Linked DNA regions of Homo sapiens: all the other regions are linked to region 1. Evidence: promoter capture Hi-C in 16 types of primary human blood cells and fetal thymus (Javierre and others, 2016). All regions are on one chromosome and are shown on one strand. The core of a region is centred on a gene start or on the middle of the fragment in contact, and the rest is flanking DNA. Distances in the headings are between cores, read along the strand shown. Region 1 holds the start of COG5 (component of oligomeric golgi complex 5). Region 2 holds the start of LOC124901722 (a long non-coding RNA gene). Region 3 overlaps PRKAR2B (protein kinase cAMP-dependent type II regulatory subunit beta). Region 4 overlaps CCDC71L (coiled-coil domain containing 71 like). Region 5 holds the start of CTB-30L5.1 (a long non-coding RNA gene). Region 6 overlaps LINC02577 (long intergenic non-protein coding RNA 2577). Region 7 has its middle 5.3 kb from the start of PIK3CG.

What was found. The method cuts DNA at HindIII sites, captures the fragments that hold promoters and counts their contacts. A CHiCAGO score of 5 or more calls a contact.
Region 2: a fragment that was not itself captured here is called in contact with the fragment with the promoter of COG5 in region 1 in 1 of 17 cell types (fetal thymus); the score reaches 5.3 in fetal thymus.
Region 3: a fragment that was not itself captured here is called in contact with the fragment with the promoter of COG5 in region 1 in 1 of 17 cell types (fetal thymus); the score reaches 6.8 in fetal thymus.
Region 4: a contact is called between a fragment that was not itself captured here and the fragment with the promoter of COG5 in region 1, in 1 of 17 cell types (fetal thymus). The highest score is 7.6, in fetal thymus.
Region 5: a fragment that was not itself captured here is called in contact with the fragment with the promoter of COG5 in region 1 in 1 of 17 cell types (fetal thymus); the score reaches 9.8 in fetal thymus.
Region 6: a fragment that was not itself captured here is called in contact with the fragment with the promoter of COG5 in region 1 in 4 of 17 cell types (fetal thymus, naive CD4 T cells, total CD8 T cells and 1 more); the score reaches 8.0 in fetal thymus.
Region 7: a fragment that was not itself captured here is called in contact with the fragment with the promoter of COG5 in region 1 in 1 of 17 cell types (non-activated CD4 T cells); the score reaches 5.1 in non-activated CD4 T cells.

Annotation. Positions count from the first base shown.
Region 1 is chr7:107,562,498-107,565,197 of GRCh38, reverse strand. It overlaps COG5 (component of oligomeric golgi complex 5), which reads left to right and starts at 1,278. Exons shown (of 22, transcript NM_006348.5): 1 at 1,278-1,395. The coding sequence starts at 1,302. DUS4L-BCAP29 (DUS4L-BCAP29 readthrough) reads right to left here and starts at 1,227. Exons shown (of 13, transcript NR_163941.2): 1 at 989-1,227; 2 at 522-610. It overlaps DUS4L (dihydrouridine synthase 4 like), which reads right to left and starts at 1,227. Exons shown (of 8, transcript NM_181581.3): 1 at 989-1,227; 2 at 522-610. RefSeq lists enhancers at 1-700, 1,231-1,350 and silencers at 1,051-1,150, 1,189-1,399. The HindIII fragment of the contact is 2,647 bases long and covers 399-2,700 here.
Region 2 is chr7:108,526,212-108,528,911 of GRCh38, reverse strand. It overlaps LOC124901722 (a long non-coding RNA gene), which reads right to left and starts at 2,437. Exons shown (of 2, transcript XR_007060473.1): 1 at 1,267-2,437. It also overlaps a transcript of PNPLA8 not described here. RefSeq lists enhancers at 2,159-2,498, 2,680-2,700. The HindIII fragment of the contact is 1,289 bases long and covers 626-1,914 here.
Region 3 is chr7:107,044,967-107,047,666 of GRCh38, reverse strand. It overlaps PRKAR2B (protein kinase cAMP-dependent type II regulatory subunit beta), which reads right to left. Exons shown (of 11, transcript NM_002736.3): 1 at 2,453-2,700. Among named protein-coding and RNA genes, the nearest start is that of PRKAR2B, 1.6 kb to the right of the region's middle. RefSeq lists silencers at 2,569-2,700, 2,650-2,700. The HindIII fragment of the contact is 542 bases long and covers 1,142-1,683 here.
Region 4 is chr7:106,657,622-106,660,321 of GRCh38, reverse strand. CCDC71L (coiled-coil domain containing 71 like) reads left to right here. Exons shown (of 1, transcript NM_175884.6): 1 at 1-2,700. The coding sequence ends at 133. Among named protein-coding and RNA genes, the nearest start is that of CCDC71L, 2.2 kb to the left of the region's middle. RefSeq lists an enhancer at 341-390. The HindIII fragment of the contact is 1,046 bases long and covers 733-1,778 here.
Region 5 is chr7:106,597,734-106,600,433 of GRCh38, reverse strand. CTB-30L5.1 (a long non-coding RNA gene) reads left to right here and starts at 1,587. Exons shown (of 4, transcript NR_187788.1): 1 at 1,587-1,680. RefSeq lists an enhancer at 1,429-1,478. The HindIII fragment of the contact is 1,008 bases long and covers 854-1,861 here.
Region 6 is chr7:106,791,823-106,794,522 of GRCh38, reverse strand. All of the region lies in intron 1 of LINC02577 (long intergenic non-protein coding RNA 2577), which reads right to left. Among named protein-coding and RNA genes, the nearest start is that of LINC02577, 18 kb to the right of the region's middle. The HindIII fragment of the contact is 160 bases long and covers 1,273-1,432 here.
Region 7 is chr7:106,858,587-106,861,286 of GRCh38, reverse strand. No RefSeq gene overlaps it. Among named protein-coding and RNA genes, the nearest start is that of PIK3CG, 5.3 kb to the left of the region's middle. The HindIII fragment of the contact is 1,877 bases long and covers 498-2,374 here.

The sequences.
Region 1 (2,700 bases), core at 29-2,528:
TCGCTGTATGAATGAATATTACTCACTCTTCTAAAATCTTCCACTGGGGGGAATAAAGCCAAGGAAGGAAAAACAATTCCTAATTCACAAGTAATGAATGAATCACCCCTATTCCCATCATGACTAAGATCTTACATACTAGGGAAAATCCTCTGAGACAAAGAGAGCATAATGCAGTGTAGCATAAGACTTGCTTACCTGAGGTGTTATGAGTATGAAATGCATTGAGTTATAAAATACTTAGAACAGCGATAAGCACAGGATAAGTAATAGCACCTTTTTGAAACAGAATGTAGAAAACCACGTAGCTCTGGAACTGGATAAAATTGGTTTCCTGGATACATACCTACTGTACAAAATGAAAAAGTCATCTTCCAGCTTCTTTTTGCGAAGAAGCTTAAGACTGTCTTGCATACTTGTGGTTGCCTGACCCTGTTAATTTATCAGTATTTATCTTAGAAGAAAGAAATCTAGGTCAAAAACGCGAACGTATTAGTAAAGAAGATACAATGGGAACCAACCTGATGCTCTTACAGCGTCAATACTGTTAGTTGAGATGTGGACCATCTATCAGTTTGTAATTAAGAAAAAGTCTGGCACGTGACTGAAACTGAGGAAGAAGTAGAAAAGGCAAAAGGTCAAAGGTCTCATGGGAAGGAAGGAGGGTAGAGACAGTGAGTTTTATTGGTCCTTTTATGGTTCAGACTTCCTTCTTCATCGACTCTCCCTAATTCTCTTCACTGTTCATCCCCAGCAACTTTTCTTCCCAAGCATTTCCTGCGGGCTTTTATTACCCCAGGAGTGCCAATCAAGGCGTGGAACAGATAAAGCTGTGTAGCAACTAACGCGTGACTCTTGTGAGTGTGGAGGGCAAACGAAGCTCCCTGAAACCTCCGCTCTGCTCTCCTGCCTTACGCCGCGCGGCCCCTGTTCTGAGGTTTAATACTTGCTTCACAGATAAGCGCTGCGGCCACGTTCCGGTGCCCACCTTCTCCTTGGCTAGGGCACGACGCCAGCCCAGGGGGCGCGGCCCTGAGCTGCTGCGAGAGACAGCTGAAAGCGCCGGCCCGACGGCCTTGGCTCCCTCGGTGCGCTGGGCGCAGAGCACTCGGACCCTGGGCGCCCACTGCTCGAGTACCTGCGCGGCTCCTAGCCAGGCTTAGCCCAGGCGCGGGCTGAGAGTCAGTTCGCCAGGTGGGCCTGGAGCCATGGGCTGGGTGGGCGGGCGGCGCCGGGATTCTGCGTCACCACCTGGGCGGAGCCGTTCTGCTGCTGACGACATCAACCCGGCACCTGCCAACATGGAAGGTGGCGGCGGCAGCGTCGCTGTAGCTGGCCTCGGAGCTCGAGGCTCTGGAGCGGCTGCAGCTACAGTCCGGGAACTTCTGCAGGACGGTAAGGAGACGGGGTCTGACCAGGTCGTGGGGTTGGGGGTCTGCGCTGCTCCGCACCTGGACAGCGAGGTGGACCCAACCCGTTGCTTTGCAGAAAGTTTTCCAGTCTGGACGTGACCACTCCCCTCCGCCCGGCCCCCTGGCTTGGGTACTGTTCTAGCCAACCTATTTACTCTGGGACTGGCTCCCTCTTTTCTGGAGTCTTGGGGACACTTGGTTTCTGTGTGTTCCTCATTTCAACTCGACCCCCCCCCCCCCCATGCCTCCAGCTTCCCTGAAGTTTCGGGAGCCCAAACCCTGTGGACCGCGTTGGCAGCCACCGGCTGCTGCCGCAGTTCTTGACGAAGGGGTGTAGCGTTCGAGCTCTTCAAAAGTGTAAGCTCTAGAACAGACGGCAGACGCATAATGAAATAGGGCCTTGTTTTAAAGTAGAGCTGGAAACGCTTACTCCTTTAACAAATGGACTGTACAGGTGACCCCTCTTACAGGCTGGTTTTTTTTTTCCTCCTTTATGAGGCAGTTATCTACAGTGACACGTGGGGGAGGGTTTGAGACATTTGTTCAGGTTGGGATTAACCATTTGTACAGAATCTAGCAGTCAGATTTTATTGCTAGTCAGTTTGGAGAGAAGTTGCCCAAAATAAGAAAAGTTAGATATAATATACTTGAAAAGCATATTCAGTTGTGTCAATCCAGTTACCATGTCCCGAATCTCTTATCCTTCAGAATAAAGTTCACATTTATAAGCATAAAAATAAAGCCCTTCTCACCTGTTCTTAATTTTTTCTCTAGTGGCCATCGCATTCTACCTTGTACTAAAATCATTTGTATACTTGTTTTAATCTCTTCTGTATTGCAAACTTTTTTTAATATCCCACAGTGTGAATAGCAGTATCTTGCATACAGTAGGTGCAGAATGTTTTTTAAATTCATCATCGCAGTTAGAAGCACATGCACACATTTGAAGACCGAAGTGGGTAATAAATGAAATAAAGTTCCAAATTATTGTTTATTTTCTCTGACTGTTAAATATTTTATTGTCATCCTGAATTACGTGCCTTTTCATGATAATTTATGTACTTTTGTCAAAAGCAATGATGTTTTCTGAACTATTTCATGTTGGAAACTCTAGGACCGGGTCTCTGTCTAAAACTTGGCTAAACTGAATTTAAACTTTAGATACAAGGCAGAGACCCTGATATATTTGCAGTTGCTCCTGATACACGTGCAATTTTTGCCCTCAAGTAGTTCACCATCTAGTAGAGGAAATAATCTTGTAGACTATAAAGGTAGGTGCTGTAATATA
Region 2 (2,700 bases), core at 21-2,520, 960 kb before region 1:
TGAAGGCATTAGTCTGCTATTATACACAAGATAATCTCCAATTTTGCATACTACTGAATTTGTTTGAAATTAAATATAATTCTCTTTTGTCTCAAAACTGCCCAACATCAAAAGAATCATAAATGGGTTTTATTTTCCATTTTTAACTTATCAAACTAGTAATCTAAATGAAACTAAAAATCAATTCAATAATACAGAATTTTAGAGAGTCTACTATTTGTTGGATGTTACGCTAGATCCAGACAATACAGTTTACCTTACGCTCCTTGACTGCAGGAAACTGGCAGGCATATAAACAAATAAATTATAATACTGTGCAGCAAGGGCAATAAGAGAAGTGAGCACAGGTGGAAGGAATGATTCATTCTATGAGTAGTGAGGTAAGATTTTCCTGGCTGAAGGACAAACAAATCTTTAGGAGGACAAGGTGGAAGGGGAGCTAAGCCAACAGCATGACCAAGGCACTAAGTATGAAAAGGAACAAGAGTATCTGGGGAAGTACAGGTGTGGCTGGAGGATAGAGAGTGAGAGGCAAGTGGTGAAAGTAAAGGCTGGAAGGTCAGCAGGGTCAGAACCTATAATTTCATTCGGTATATTCTGTGAAGATGTACAGCCAGCAAAAGCTTTTTAATTCGGGAAAACACGATTGGACTTGCACTTTCAAAAGATTACCGTGGTTGCACAGAAGAGACTGACTGGGTCAGAGGTTAGTTACAGGCTGGAAAACCAGTTTAGATGAAACTGAAGAGCAAGGATGAAAGCCTGAACTAGAGCAGTGGAAATGCGAATGTGGAGCAGAGGAACGATTCAAGAAATTCTGCGGTAAAACTCATCAGACTTCATGACTGATTAAAGGTATGGTGGTAGACAAGGGAGGGAGAGGAAGGATAAGAATGGAGAAGCAGGAATTGGGCGTTATTTGAAAATTTCTGACATGGGAGGAAAATCTGGATATTTAATAACATCTGACTAAATTAGGGGATGAAAGAGCATAAGCGGAGAGGGAATGGTGGTGCTCTCTCCTTGACCATACTTTAGTTAGGCTCCTCTGAGCCCTCTTCCCAACTAGGCCTCATCCTTGGGCCCCTGTCTTAGGCCTGCTGAGTCCAGTTTTAGCAAGAATCTTGCAAAGTCAGTTTAGAGAGTATCTCCTAGCCTTGATAATTGATCATCTCCGCCTGTCTTCAGCAAGAATCTTGTAAGTCACTTTAACAAGAATATCCCCGACCCTTGATATCACTTCTTAGTAATTTTCCATGAACTGACCCCTCAGTCTGCTTGCTGGTTATAAATCCTAGCTGTTTTTGTTGTATTAAAACTTGAGGCCAATCTCTCTCCCCCATGGTGATAGTCATGGCACCTATTGCAATAGTTCTAAATGTCTTCCTTGACATTTTAACAAGTGTCAGAATAATTTTTCTTTAGCAACAAGGAGGAATCTGTCTCAAAAACTAAAGCTCCTTCCACACGCCTGTAAGGCTTAATTGGTGCATACATCTTTTAACTCTCCTGTAGCTAAATAACATGTCTGGCTTATCCACTGCTGGGGTTTACCAGGCATTATGATGTACATAATCCAGACACTGTGTCCCAAGAACATAGCAAGCTGGCTTTCCCTCCTTGATTTAAAAAAATCAAAACAACACAACTATCAGGGTAACATCCACTACATTTGACAGGTCAAAGAATCCCCTTCCTTAAGGACTTTACAATAACCTTACAGGGGGCTAAAGCATACATACCCATGGGTAGTGGGTAAGCCTTGAGAGTACAGTATAAGTCTTGATAACATTTTGAGGTTGATAACTAGTTGAAACTGATCTGTTTTCCCGACCTCAACGTAATTGCAAGGTCACTTCAAGAGGGTAAGGGGCTATTGCAACTACCCAAATTCGCTATTGTAGTATAAAAGCTTTAATTAACAGCATGTATAGGAATGCAAAGCTATGTTCTAATGAAACTTTAAAAAGCAGACACAAATATGAATGTCATATAATTGTCATCTGTCGCAAAACTTTTTTTTTAACCTTTGAAAAATGTGAAACCCATTTTTAGCTCCTAGTACAGCAGAACCTGCGGTGGGCTGGATTTGCCCTGAGGGCTGTAGTTTGCCCCTGTGGTACGTATGAAATGCCACAATTTTAAAAAGATGTGTTACGTGTGGGACCATTTGTGGGGCGGTTTATGCTAACTTCCAATACAGTAATATATGTCAACTCGCTTTTGAGTGACATTTAGTCTGGGTGGCCATGCCCAGGAATGGATATAGAGAAAGGGGCGCGGCCGCGCCGGGCACCACCCTCCAAGAGACTGGTATCGCAGCCCCCAGCTCCAAGGAACTCAGCGCAGGCAGGGGCTTCAGGGACGCGGAGAGGGAGGCTTATCTCTGCTGAAAGGGAATAGCGGCCCGCAAACAAGCAAACCAGGACACTGCTCCGAGGTCCCGCCCAGGAAGGCAAAACGAAGTCCCACCGCTCTCACACCCGGCAACCAACCAAGGCACAGCACGCCCCACCAGCAAGCCACGCCTCGCGCATCACGCACGCACGCACGCACGCACACACGTCTGTCGCGGCTTCCCGCCTTGCGCTCCGTCATGCTCTATTGCGCATATCTCGGGGCGGGGGAGGAACGGAGATTGACAAGGAGGCAGAGGCCTGAGCGAGGCGGAAAATCCTCACCCCGGCCCGCGGGTAGACC
Region 3 (2,700 bases), core at 163-2,662, 520 kb after region 1:
ATTGCCCAGTATCTGGGGTTCTTTTCTAATGAGACACATTTCTGGACATAGATGTCAAACTGATAGGCTCATACTTTTTAGGATCACTCCTGTTTTTTCCCCCAATGGTACTATTTTGACTTTTTTTTTTTTCTTCTAACCAGGGGTCGGCAAGCTATGGCCTTGATCTGCAGCTAATTTTGTACAACCGCAACCCTCAGAAGGTGTATGTGTTTAAAAAAAAAAACTGAAGAAGAAGTGATCAAGACCACATGTTGCCCTAAGTCTAAAACACTTACTAACCGGCCCTTTACAAGAAACCTTGCCAATCACTTTGTAGCCTATAATTAAATGTTTTTCAACTGGAGGTCTCAATACAATTTAAAATAGGGAGAAATAACTGATTCAAATAGGAAATATCAAAAAGCACTGCATCTGACAGAAGGAAGTACCTGTACTATTGCCAAAGTTTCTGTTATACAGATGTATGTGCCTCCTGGATAATGATCAAATTGTATTTGGTTGCAGTCAAAAAGTTTTAAAGTCCTTGGGGGTGAGGCTAGGGAGTAAATAGTGCAATTGTTTAACAAGTTTAACTTGTTTAAGTCACACTGAGCAATTTTTACAGCAAAGGTGCCTTGGAGAATATAAAGCCATATAAAATGACCCCTGCTGTTCAGAAGTTAACGGCTTATTTCTTCACTACAAAATGAAAATGGAATCTTTTCTGTGCGCAATATATTGTTATAAGGAGAAAATGCAATCATCAATGCAAAGTACTTCAACAAATGCATTATACAAACAAAATATTTTGATTATATTAACAACATATCATACAGAATATATATATATATATGGTCTTTACCAAGCCCCTTAGTTCCTAGTTTTCTCCAACCTGGGAAAAGAGTCCTTTTTTTCCCCTTTGTGTGTGTGCACGAACATGTCAGGAGCATAAAAGAAGTATTAGATATCTCTGCCCTTTCTGTCATCCGTTACTGGCTGCTGCTTCTTACCTATTTAAAACATGCATTCTTTTCTCTTTCTCGTTTCTGGTAGGAAAAGCTTTTGATTCGATTCTTGTGCAAAAAGAATTATTAAGACTATGTTTATCCTCTTGGGGAAACATTTAGAAGTCCAAAATTAAAATTGTAAGTAACAAGCTTCACTTTTATCTTCACAGCGCACTAATTTCCAGGGTTTCTGGGATTCTTTTGGAGAAACTAAAAATACACTAATTTTATAATCCATTTCAACATGTAATCCTGCAAAGAAAAGAAACATCTTCCTAGGAGCATACACAAGGAAATGAAATGACACTTTTAAATGTTTTCATTTTATGAAATACACTGCGGACACACAAACCACAAGCAGTGTAAATAAATAAAAGCTGGTGCAATGCTGCATGCATGTTTGCCTTACACCACAAAGAGAAAACACTTGCACACTGCACTCCATGGTATTTTAGCTTGGGTTGCCATAAAAATGAGATTTGGGCATGTTGTGTAATACAAGGGGCTGTAAATGAGGGTGTGTGTCTGGGTGTGTTAGGGAAAGAGGGTTGTAAGCAGAAGGGGTGGGACTTGCCAGGAGCAGCTATTTGAGAAAATTCCTTTTTCTTTCCCATTCATTCTTTCTAGCTCTACTGTCTGGCACAATCCTTACAATTACTCACTGGCTTTTCATTCTAAAGACAACCAACAAGCTTTCAGAACTTCCTACAGTGTTTTTCTCATACACTTTTAAAAAAATAAAGCACCAAATCATTCAATATGTCTTTTATATAAAAAGCAAACCATTAACCCATTTCCTCGTTCCAAAGACCCCCGTGGGTTTCAGACTAAATAGAATCCTTTGTTACGTGTCCAAAAATAACACAACACGGTATTGGTAAATTGGAAAATAATAGATAACTCTTATTTCCAAGAATGTCAGAGCTACTGGCCATAAATTTTGTTCTGCCCCAGTGAGTCCAATTTCATGCTTCTTTTAGCGAATCTACCGTCCTAACAACAGTAAAGCCAATCATATTAAACACGGTTCTCCTTTTCTCTTTCGACATTCCATTAATAAATACAAGGGCTGAAAGAAGACGCCAAGCGGGCCAGTTTCTTTATGCACAATGGTATCCTCTAAGCGAAATACCTCCAACCACAGCGAAAGTTGTCTTTCTAGCAGATGCCCACCCCAACCGGCCCAGGCAGAGGGGGCAAAGGGTAAGAGGGAAGCGTAACATCCCAGCTCTCCCACCTCTAGAGGAAGGGAAGAGGGTATGACAGAGAGCGGAGTAGGAAGGTGGGCGAGTGGGAGAGACAGAAATGGATGCTGAGGGGGTGGGCGAGATGGGAAGGTAGGGAAAGGTGGAGAATGCGGGGAGAGGTGGGTGCGCAAAGCGGCAAGATCCGAGAGCACAGCGGGGAGCGGTGGGGGGCAGCGAGGGGATCCGGGGGCGCGAAGTGGGGGGTCTGGTCCTCACCATTGAACGCCCCTGCGTCCGCGGGCGCCGCCTCCTCCTCCTCCCCGTCCTCGGAGTCGGACTGCATGGGCTCCTCGGCGAAGTTGACCCCCTTGCTGGGGGTGCCGCCCCCGGCAGCGGCGCCCAGGTCCCCCCAGGTCCTGCCCTCATGGCCGAAGCGCGCGGTGCCTTTGCGCTCGTTCTCCTGCTGCAGGCGGGTGAAGTGCTGCAGCGCGAACTCCAGCAGGTCCGCGGGCTGGTGCCTCAGC
Region 4 (2,700 bases), core at 6-2,505, 900 kb after region 1:
CACCATCCGCGTCGGCAGCGACGTGTGGGGCGAGCGCAGCCTGGCGGCAGCGCGGCGCAGGGCGCGCCAGGTCCTGCGAGTGAACCTGGAACCCATGGTGAGGCTCCGCCGCTTCCCGGTGCCCCGGGCATGAGGTGCGGCCTCCAGGGCGCCTCCTGCCGGCCCCGACCTTGGGACAGGCCTTCCGCCCGGAGGAATGAACAAGTGTCAGTCGAGTGTTTACAGATCCGGCCAGGACCCCGGCCCCCAATGCACTTTACGCGCGAAGAAGTTGCCGGATGGTTGTCCCTGTCCCGGGCCGCGGCGCGGTCGTCTTGGACGCTGGGGCAGGTGTGCCCTCTGCTGCCTCCCGTACCCGGCCTGCGGAGGGAGGGGACAGCTGGACCCGCAGGGGAGGTCCCTTTCTTCCTGACCACCGATTGAGACGTCTCCAGGACCTTAGGGGCAGATCCGTTTTCTCACTGTTGGACTCTACCTCACTGGTCTGGAAGTCCTCCGAAGACATTATTTTTCCAAAGGAATTTGGTTTCGTGCTTGTGTAATAAAGCCAGAATTTACTTGTTCTTTATCTCCCCCTTTTTCTATTTCACTGTCACCCCTCTTTGTGGACAGAAGTTCGAACATGTGGTGTTGCACTAGTTTGTGCTCAGGGTATTCTGAAGCCCACTCGTTTCCTAATTTTTACTGGATTCCAAAGCTTTGATCGAGGATATTTTTTAAGAGGTTCAAGCTTGTGACTGTTAGTAGTGCAAGGATTTGTATGGGCTCAGTGATTACAAACAAAGACATGCAAAATACAACTGTTTAAACATTTTCAAGGTATTTTTAAAGGTTTTGTATTGAAACAATGTTTATATTTACTGAGCTCCTAAAAATGGTAGAATACACATGAAAACTTTTGTTTAGGAAAAGTTAACTTGTTAAATTCTTTTGAATTGAATAAAAAAATGCATTGAAACCATATGGTGTGTGATTAAAAAAAATGAATAAATTGTGAAGAACTGGTTTTGGTTACAGGAGTCACTGGAATCCGACTGGAGATGATTTGGCCCCCTGTCCTGGTCTAACATACAAATCTAGGAATATTATGCGTTAAAGTATTTTAAAATACATTATCCTTGTAATGTATTTTACAAGGATAATGTATTTTAAAATGGGAGTTGCATAGGAGAGATGGATGTGTGTAAACATTATCACTAAAATGATAAACAGAATACCCATTAGAATTCTTAGAACTATTAATGATCAAGAGGGGTGGAGGCATTTCTTGGTATCAAATAACTGGTTAAGGTTACTTTGGGCGAAATCTATTTCCTTTTTGTTTTTGTTGTTGGATAACAAGAAATGTCTAGACTAATATTCATCAGTTTTACAAACATAATGAAAATTAGTTGATTTTTAGTTGATTTTTTTGTCCCAACATTTTTTTTAACCTTTTTGCCACTCATTATATGTTTGCAGTTCTAGGTCTTTGACAGCTGAAGACCACAGGAATCAAACAGGCGAGACACACAGAATACTGACCCTTCTTTACGCTTTTATAGTGTTTATACCATATGGCCCAGTGTGGAATTCTTGATTATCCAAGTGCCTTTGGTCATTTGTGGCAGGAAAACTTAATAGTTTTTAGCCAGCAGTGCCACAGCCAGCTTTTACTGCAATACCTAAAGGGTCAAGTAGTGTTTTTGTACCACTATTATTTCAAATTTAAGTATTCTGCCATGAAACGATCCATACTGGGCTGGAACTTGACATGTGAAATCTTTAATACTAAAGCTTATCTCTGCTTGGCAGCTTTTTAGGAGAATAATGAGAGTTACAATTTTGACTCTTGCGTTCCTAGAATTCAAATGGCATAGCTTTCTGAAATGAGTATTTCAAGTTTAGTAGTCCGTATAGGAGTGTTGTGACTTCAATTTCAGTGTTCTTGTTAAAAGAAATAATATGATATATATATACACACATATATATAACTTGATGCCAGTTTTCTAGTAAGCCTCAGTCTTTTATTCACTACTCAATGATAATGCATTGTACAAACACTGTCACATGAGTAAATAAAAATGAATAATTCCTTAGAAGATGGAGAGTGTTAAATTATATTTGTGATAGGAAGCTTAGACATATCTTTTGGTTATTAGCTTCCATTGCCAATTGTATTTCAGATGCATAGGGTTTTCTTCCCAAAAATATATTGTTAACTTTTATAGCTAACTAGCACCTGGAAAAAATGTATTTGTACAACTTTACTATTGTATATAGTTTTATAATAATGAAAAATAAACCCAATGGCCATATTAGAATGCAATTTCGACATACAGCTTATCTAGATAGTTTTCCAGAGGATTTTGAAATTTGGCTTAACTGGGAGGATAACTGCTCAGCACACCACTGAAACATAACCACTGACACCATTCATTTATTTTAACTGAGATTCTTGACATTTTTCTCTCCTATGCCTTGTTACTTTAGCATACTTGAACTCACATAAATGCTTCTTTGGATTACATGGGCTATCTGATTCCATTTTGGATCTGATTGTCCATCTTGAATTCAATATGGTATTCATCTGGACTATTCAAAAATTATGCCATTTCTAGTCTGTGAAATAAGATGTAAAAAATCTTTATTTTTGCCCTTTGGTAAAAACCTATGTGACAACTTTTAAAATGTGAAGCAACATCTAATATAGTTGACTGG
Region 5 (2,700 bases), core at 108-2,607, 960 kb after region 1:
CAGCTTTGGAACAGAACATGTACTCCCTTAATTGACACCAATGCATAGGGAGAGCACAGTAAGGACCACAGTAGATCCAGGGGATGAGGTACTGCCCTTCATTAGAAGCGAGGGCCCTTGGTGTGCCCCCGTATGGGAGGAGGGTTTACGAGAGGGCAGACAGTGGTGGGGAGAGAAAATTGGAATCCGATTTATAGTAATGGAATCTCAAAGGAATGCTACTATCTTATTCGTATGCTTCCCTATTATATGTATCCTAAGGAAAATTAATATTTTTTTCTCTAAATAGTTTTTTAAGGTAATATATATGTAGTAAAAATTCATATAGTATAAAAGGATATTCAATGAAAGTAAAGCTCTTTCCTACCCTATTCTCCATTATTCTTTCCCAGAGGTGACCACCAGTCTCAGTTTCTAGTCTTTTCCTTAAAAACCTTTAAGTATAGAAATGCATATTACATATACATTTATAACACACCATGCAAATATATCTAAATCCAAACCTAACTGTACATCTATATCTATATTTTAATATACAGTTGGTAGCATCCTATCATCAAGAGCTCTCTATTTTAGCTCATAAAGACATTATTATTATTTTAGTGCAGTAGGAACACATAACTTGAGGTCTACCTTCTTAGCAAATTTTTAAGTGTACATGATAGTGCACCATTATTTATTAAACTGCTACATTATATTACTACTATAACTGCATGATATTTAATCAGTTCCCTATTGATAAATATTTAATTTGTTTTGGTCTATTACTATTTCAAGCACTGCTGTAATGAAAGTCCTTGCACGTATGTGTATGAATCAGGGTCCAGCAGAAGCAGATGGCACATCCCAAGCTTACCTGACGAGTTTAGTCATGGAGGTACTATTTACACAGGTGCTGGCAGGATGAATAGAACCAGCAATAAATGGCTAAACATTCAGGAACTCCCAACAGTGACAAGCCTTCACCACCCCAGGCATGAAGGGATAAGGGGAGGGAGCAGTGTTACTAGAAGCCAGTGAGACCATGGCTGTGGGAGAGAGGCCAGCCAAACGGAGCTACAGCCACATGGTGAGGAATGGAGCCAGTAGCCAAACTGCAGCCATCAGAGTAGGAGCAAGAGGAATAAATACCCTGACTGCTATCTCCTTTTGCTCTCTGGTTTTCTGCTGGTTCTTCCAGCTGCTGAATAGAAGTGGAAGTCAGAGGTTGGGGAAGCCCAGGTGATGCAGTCCATGGAGGTCAGTCTGCAAGGTACAGGGTAGGCAGGGAGAGGAAGGATAAATGGGGAATAATCAGTGTAATATGTTGTTACACAAATGTGCCATTAATCTAGTAGAAATTTTCCTAGAAGTTGAATTGTGGTGTCAGCAGGAAGGAAAGAGCTGGCCACATGTCCCTCAATCTCCCTTCTCCTCCTCTTCCATGGTAATACAATGCAAAGCTGTGCAAATGGCGGCCCAGAATTAAGACTACATTTCCCAGCCTCCTTTGCAGCTAGAGCAGTGGAACGGGAAGTGTCGCGTGACAGCTTCTGAAAAACTTCTCTGAGAGACAGATGACAAGTGCCTTCTGTCCTCTATTCTTTATTCGTTTTTGTACTTCACATGCTGCCTAGGGCCACACCCTTTTGGTGGTGAGTGGGGAGCTGGAAGGAGCCAGGTTCTTGAGGACTTTATAGGGTAAGAGCTGCCCTGCCAGTTCTAAGCTATATACCTCCAGATTTTATTTATTTGGGAGAGAAATTAACTTTTACCTCGTTTAAGCAACAGTTATTTTCTTTTCTATGTCAAGTACCTAAATCTAATCCTAATGAATATAATGGGTATAAAATTTTTGAATTTTTATGGGTGTTGTCAAGCTTGGTTTATTTAATTTAAAAATATCTAATTGACAGATAAAAAGTATATATATATTCAAGGTGTACAACATGTTGATGTGATACACATATATGTACACTGGATACTGATTACTACGATTACTACAGTCAAATTAATTAACACATCTATTACAACCCGTAGTTAACATGTGTGCGTGTGTGTGTGGTGGTGTGGTGTTTTAAGTTGAATTTTCCAGACTTTCTGGGTTTGAATCTCAGCTTCTCCATTTACTAGACATGTGATCTTGAACAAGTTTCTTAATCATTTTGTGCCTTAGTGTTCTCATAGTGATAGTGATAGAAACTACCTCATTTGGTTGTTATGAGGAGTAAATGAGTTAGAATATCTGAAACACATAGAACGTCTATCTGACATAGCTGATACTCAAAAAAAGTAAGCTATTTATATTATTATTACTAGTATCATTTTTAATTGTCCTCCAAAGAAGATGTACCAATTTGTCTATTCACTGTCTGGAAGTGTCTCTTTCTCTCCTTTCATCAATACTGTGCATTAGCAAAGATTTTTGTCCAGTAAATGAATAGTGATATTTCATTTTATTTTAAATTACCATCTAAAATTTTAAGGTTGAATATCTTTTTATATTTTTATGCCATTTATATTTATTTTCTGGTGAATTTTCTGTTTGTGTGCTCTGTTCATGATTTTTTTTTGAAATAACTCTCGAATGTATAATGAAAATTAGCCTTTTGCATGCTATGGGTGGGGCAAATATTTTCCCAAGTTTTTATTTGTCTTTGACATTATTTTTTCCATACATAAATTTTAACATAGTAAAAATGATCCTTCTTTTTCATTATA
Region 6 (2,700 bases), core at 103-2,602, 770 kb after region 1:
TCAGGTCCACCTCAGTTGCAGAGAGCTGCCTTCCCCAAGGCCATTCCCTCCTGTGAGGCCCATATCCAGTGACTGATGGAGACAGGTGTAGAAAAGCCTGGCTCTTTGGCCCAGTGCTGGCCAATCCTTCCACCCTCCCCTTCTCTCCATAGGTACTAATCCTAAGGGCACTTCCTAGCAAACACCTACAACCTGAGTTCCCAGAGAACCCACCTTGCTAAACATGAGTTTGAATTTCATCTTAATGGCTCCTGAGGCCTGTGGCTTTGGGGAGACAATCACTTATTTTTTGTAAGGCTTAATGTCTTCATCCAATAAATGGGAATAATAGTAACTTCATAGGATTATTGTGTATGCGGAGTAATCCCTCATAAATATTAGATATCATAATCTTGGGCAAGTTTATGGCTTCTGGGAGCCTTGGATCCTTTATGCAAAAATGAGAACAATACTACTTACATCTCAGGATTTTGGTTAGACTTGTATGACATAATGTATGTCTTGTTACATGCGCAATAGATAAGAGCCCCCGCCCCCCACCATTTTCCCTTTAAAATACCCACGGAACCTTTATATAGTGAATTAAAAAAATAAGTTGTGTTTATTTTCTTTTTCTGTATTGCTTGCCCTTCATCAGTGTATAGGACATTTGTATTTGGAGGAGAAAAACTGAATGCAGAACAGAAAGGCAGGAGCTAGGGTGGAACCCTGGATTTGTGGCTCTGTTCTCTTTCGTCACAGCTCAATGGCCAGCTCCTCCGGGAAGCTCACCCTGACTAACTCAGTGCATTCTGCAAATTATTCATGCAACCATTGATGACCATCTCTTTTTCCTTGATTCACTTTTTTAGTTCTTATAATAATATATTTTCATGAATTACAGGATTTCTATGTTCTTATTGTAAGCCTCTGAGAAGCAGAGACGGTGTCTGTTTTTTAAGAGAGTATGCCTGGTGGAATACTACCATTTTCCCTGGGAGTGTTCATTTGTTACTGTGCTAGTTACCAGCAACGAACTCTTCCAACAGTGCTGAGTCCTCCTGCAGCCCCGAGATGCTCCAGGAATTCCCGCTGAATTGACAAGAAATCTGAGAGCCAGATGGGGCCTTCTGAGGCCCCCCAGTCCAACTCTGATCATCTTACCTTTCTGGAAACTTATTTTTGGTCATCTCCTTCCCTCATTTAAAGGCTCATGTGAAAATTTTTGCAAACCCATCTTTATTGTATCTTCTGTATTTTATAATTTGATAACTCTCAATTTTTAAAAAAGCTTGGTCAGTTCTAGGAACATTGTCTTACACTGACACCTGCTGGGCAGGTGGAAAAATAACAGGTACCTGTAACACTAGTGTCTTTTAGGACTAGAAGCAGAGAAACTCCATTCATCTTTCTTTAATAAGCATCTTTCTTACAACTATCCTAATTTTAAGCTTTCCTTTCCCTCTTCTCCCACTAAACCTAAAGTCTGGATTTTATATTTCTTGATGACTCTATTGCTAAAAGCCTATAGCACCATTAAACAACATCATTTCATAGATAACACTTAATGCTTAATGATGAACAATAATCCCGCTCATTACCTGTGACCTTGGTTCTGCAAGCACTATACCTCCAAACAACTGAGCTGTCGAGTGGGCCCCATGAAAAGTAGGTGGCCATTTTTAACCCTGGATTCACCCAGTTGGCCGGAACTGTGAGGCCATCTGATCTGGATCAGAGTGTCTCGGTGATGGAAGGAAGAGTCATTCAGTGTGAATGTCAGAGTTCTTATTTTGAAAGTTTTTCCAGGGATCACGACCCCAGTAAAAATTTATTTAAGTGTTTCATCATCCTAATGAGACTTTGTTATAAACCATGTCTCTCTCTCTCTGCTTTTATTTAAACACTTTTTTTTTCTGTCCAAACAAATTCCAGCTCTAATAGTCCTTTTATTCCAGGAAAGGATGGACAAACAAGTAAATAAAGTATATGATTTGTCAAATGATCATAAATGCTAAGTTTTACAAAAGGGCAGGAAGGAAGATAAGGATTGCGTGTGTGTGTTTGGGGAGGTGGTTGCTTACTGCTTATAGAGCCGTGTGGGGGATAAGGGCTGACCCAGGAGCCTTGGGTTTCTTGTGGTGACATAAACAAGGTTAGAAAGTATGCCGAGGCTGAGGCAGGAGGATCACTTGAGCCCAGGAGGTGGAGGTTGCAGTGAGCCAAGATCGTGCTATTACATTCCAGCCTGGGTGACAGAGACTCTGTTTCAAAACCAAAAAAAAAGTATGCTGAGGTTTAGAAAAGACTAATCAATATCCTATTTATTATAAAAACTTTATGATATTTTAATTTATTATCATAAAAACTTTACCAGATATACCAGTAGGCTATATTCTAATTATCCCCCTTACCAATCCCTTTCACTGTACTTTTTTGGGGTTTATTTAATAACTTAATCATTAAAAGTACTTTCTAGTTGGGTCCATACTTTTTTCCTGCAAGTGTTGATTTAGAGAGGAAGACAGGACCCAGGGTCTGAGCCTGTGGCATTTGTTAGCACTGCATGGGAACTAATTGATCCTCGGGGTCATCTGGAACTTGGAGAAGGAGGCACTGAAGAATTCAGTCGGGGTCACAGAGGAAGGGGCCTGATGCCTGGGATGGATGGGCCAGGCAGACTCAGTGAGAGGAAGGGAGGTGGATTTTGGATCTGGGTAA
Region 7 (2,700 bases), core at 187-2,686, 700 kb after region 1:
CCCGAGTAGCTGGGATTATAGGCATGCGCCACCATGCCCAACTAATTTTTGTATTTTTAGTATAGACTGGGTTTCACCACATTGGCCAGCCTGGTCTTGAACTTCTGACCTCAAGTTATCCACCTGCCACAGCCTCCAAAAGTGCTGAGATTACAGGTGTGAGCCACCACACCTGGCCTGCATAATACTTTAGACCTTTTATGATTTATCCCTTATGAACTATCCTTAACTCTTTCTTCCAGATTCTCCTCTTCCAATTCCCTTCCATGATTGAATTCCACCAATTTCTGCTTTCATACCTTCTGTGTTCCACCACACCTCTGTGCCTCTGTGTGCCACTCCCTATGTCCTATTCCCTCCCCTCATTCTCTCTCCTCTCCCTCCCCCTTCTCTCATCCCCTCAGCCATTTGACCAGCTCCTGCTTCATTGGTATTCAGAGTGAGTAACCTCCACTGAGAGGGCTTTCTGGTCAGGAAAGCATAGGGTTAGGGAAGCTTTCTCCCAATAGTAACCACCACAATAACAATATCACCACCAATAAGTGGAAGCTCTTCTTTAGGGAAGGGTCTCACTCTGTTGCTCAGGCTGGAGTACAGTAGTGCAATCTCAGCTCACTGCAGGCTTGACCTCCCGGGCTCAAGTGATCCTCCCATCTCAGCCTCTCAAGTAGCTGGAACTACAGGTGTGAGCCTCCATACCCGGCTAATTTTTTGTATATTTACTAGAGATGAGATATTGCCATGTTGCCCTGGCTGGTCTGGAACGCCTGGGTTCAAGTGATCTGCCTGCCTTGGCCTCCCAAAGTGTTGAGATTACAGGCGTGAACCACTGTGCCTGGCTCACAAACTCTTTTATGGCACTTTCTTTGAGTCTTACGTTGATCTAAGAACTTTAGTACATTCATTCATTTAATCCTCACATCCTTCCAAGGGGAGAGGCACTACTATTGTCTCCACTTACAGGTGCTAAAAGCAAGGCACAGAGAAGTTGAGTGGCTTGCCCTTGGTGCCACAGGTGGTAAGTGGCAGTCATCATAGCACTTCTCCTGGGTGAGGACAGCTGGTGACTGGGCTGCCTCCTCTACCCGACTGGGTTCTTTGAGTGACTGCTCTGTATTGACTCGCTGTATTCCCCAGAGCTTAATACAGTGCTTGCCACATACAAAGCCAAGGCCTTGATAAATGTTGGTGGAATGGTTAGTTTGTATAGAGTCTCTCTTTTTGGAAGCCATTGGATTCCTTTGTATTTACAGGAAGCAATGGGAGTACTGAGTGATATTCGCAAAGCCTCCCAGACTAACCAAAACCCAGACAGCCCCTCCCTTCCATGTAACCATGTAACGTAAAACTCTCCAATCTGCCTCCTCTTCAAACCTTGCAATGTGAAACTTGGGAGGAAAATGGTCTGTAGGGTGTGGAACTTAGGAGGGAACCTAGTTTGACATTATAAGAAACCACAATCCTTTAGAAACATCTCCTTTATAGCTCTTATTTGGTCCAATTTAGTAGTTTTCTTTGTTGTTCCATTCCTAATATTGACTGAAGTATAAGACCAAAGACCGTTGGTACCGTGTCCTGTGAGCCAGAAATCCTCCCATGGAATGGATATCCAGACCCATCCCTGAGTCCCTGCCTTCAGAATTACCTGCTTGCTGCTAAGGAATTTTATCTACCTACCTATGCACCTATCTAGTCACCTACCTAACTGTCTCATCCACGTCTCACACACACACCATGATCCTGACAGAGACAAAGCTGATTGCAATAAGGGAGTAGTTTCCGAACCAAATCTGTTTCCTTCCTTCATAGGATTTTCCCTGTTCAAGAGCATAGCAGAGGGTCCTAGGAGAGAGGAAGAATGAGTAGACCAGCTTAGTTGGAGTCTGCTCTCAAATCCCTGGCCCTGAGGCTGGAAGGGAGATTATAATAGGAGCTGCTTCTCAGGCCTTCTTAGGGAACATTGTTCCTTCCAAAGCCCTGGGTTCTCAGCTTTGAGTCTGGCAGGAGTCACATCCAGCTGGAAGGAAGCCAAGAGGGTGCCCCACCTCTCCAGGTTCAGAAAAAGGTCACAGGAGCAAAGCAGGCTTGGGCTGGGAAGTGGGTGTTGGGGCTGGCCGGGAGCCAAGTGCTTTTCTGGTCCCCAGGAGGGTGAGCCGGGTCACTGTGAGGCCACGGCCCTGCACCTCCTTCTTCTTCTTTTCAAGCAAAAATCAACTTTATTCCAGTGGCCTCTGTACTGCTTTCTTCTCTGATGGGTAGACAAGGACCTTGCGGGCCACGGGCACTAGCTCCTGCAGGGACCTGGGGCGGGACAGGAAGGGATCTCTACCTGCCTTGCTCTATACCTAGGAGGAATATTTTTGCCTTCAAAGCTTGGCCTGCATTTTCTGGAATTACCCATCATGTGTGTCTGTTGAATCAAGTGAGAATTTTCTGCAGATTGGGAAATGCCTTGCAGGGTGTGTCTCAGTGAGGGCTCGAGTTCCCCCGGGTGTGCCCCTCTGCTGCCATAGCGGTTCTCATTTTCTTTTCAAATAGATGCCTTGGCAGTCTCCATTCCTCCAGCCTTTTTCATTCTCTCCTCCTCCCCTCTTGCCTCCTTTTCTTTTAAAATAGTATGTACAACCTGAAAGGGAGGAGCTTCTGGGTTGCTGGTAGTTTCTTGATGCGGTGCCGGCCTAGCTTATGATCAGTTTGTGG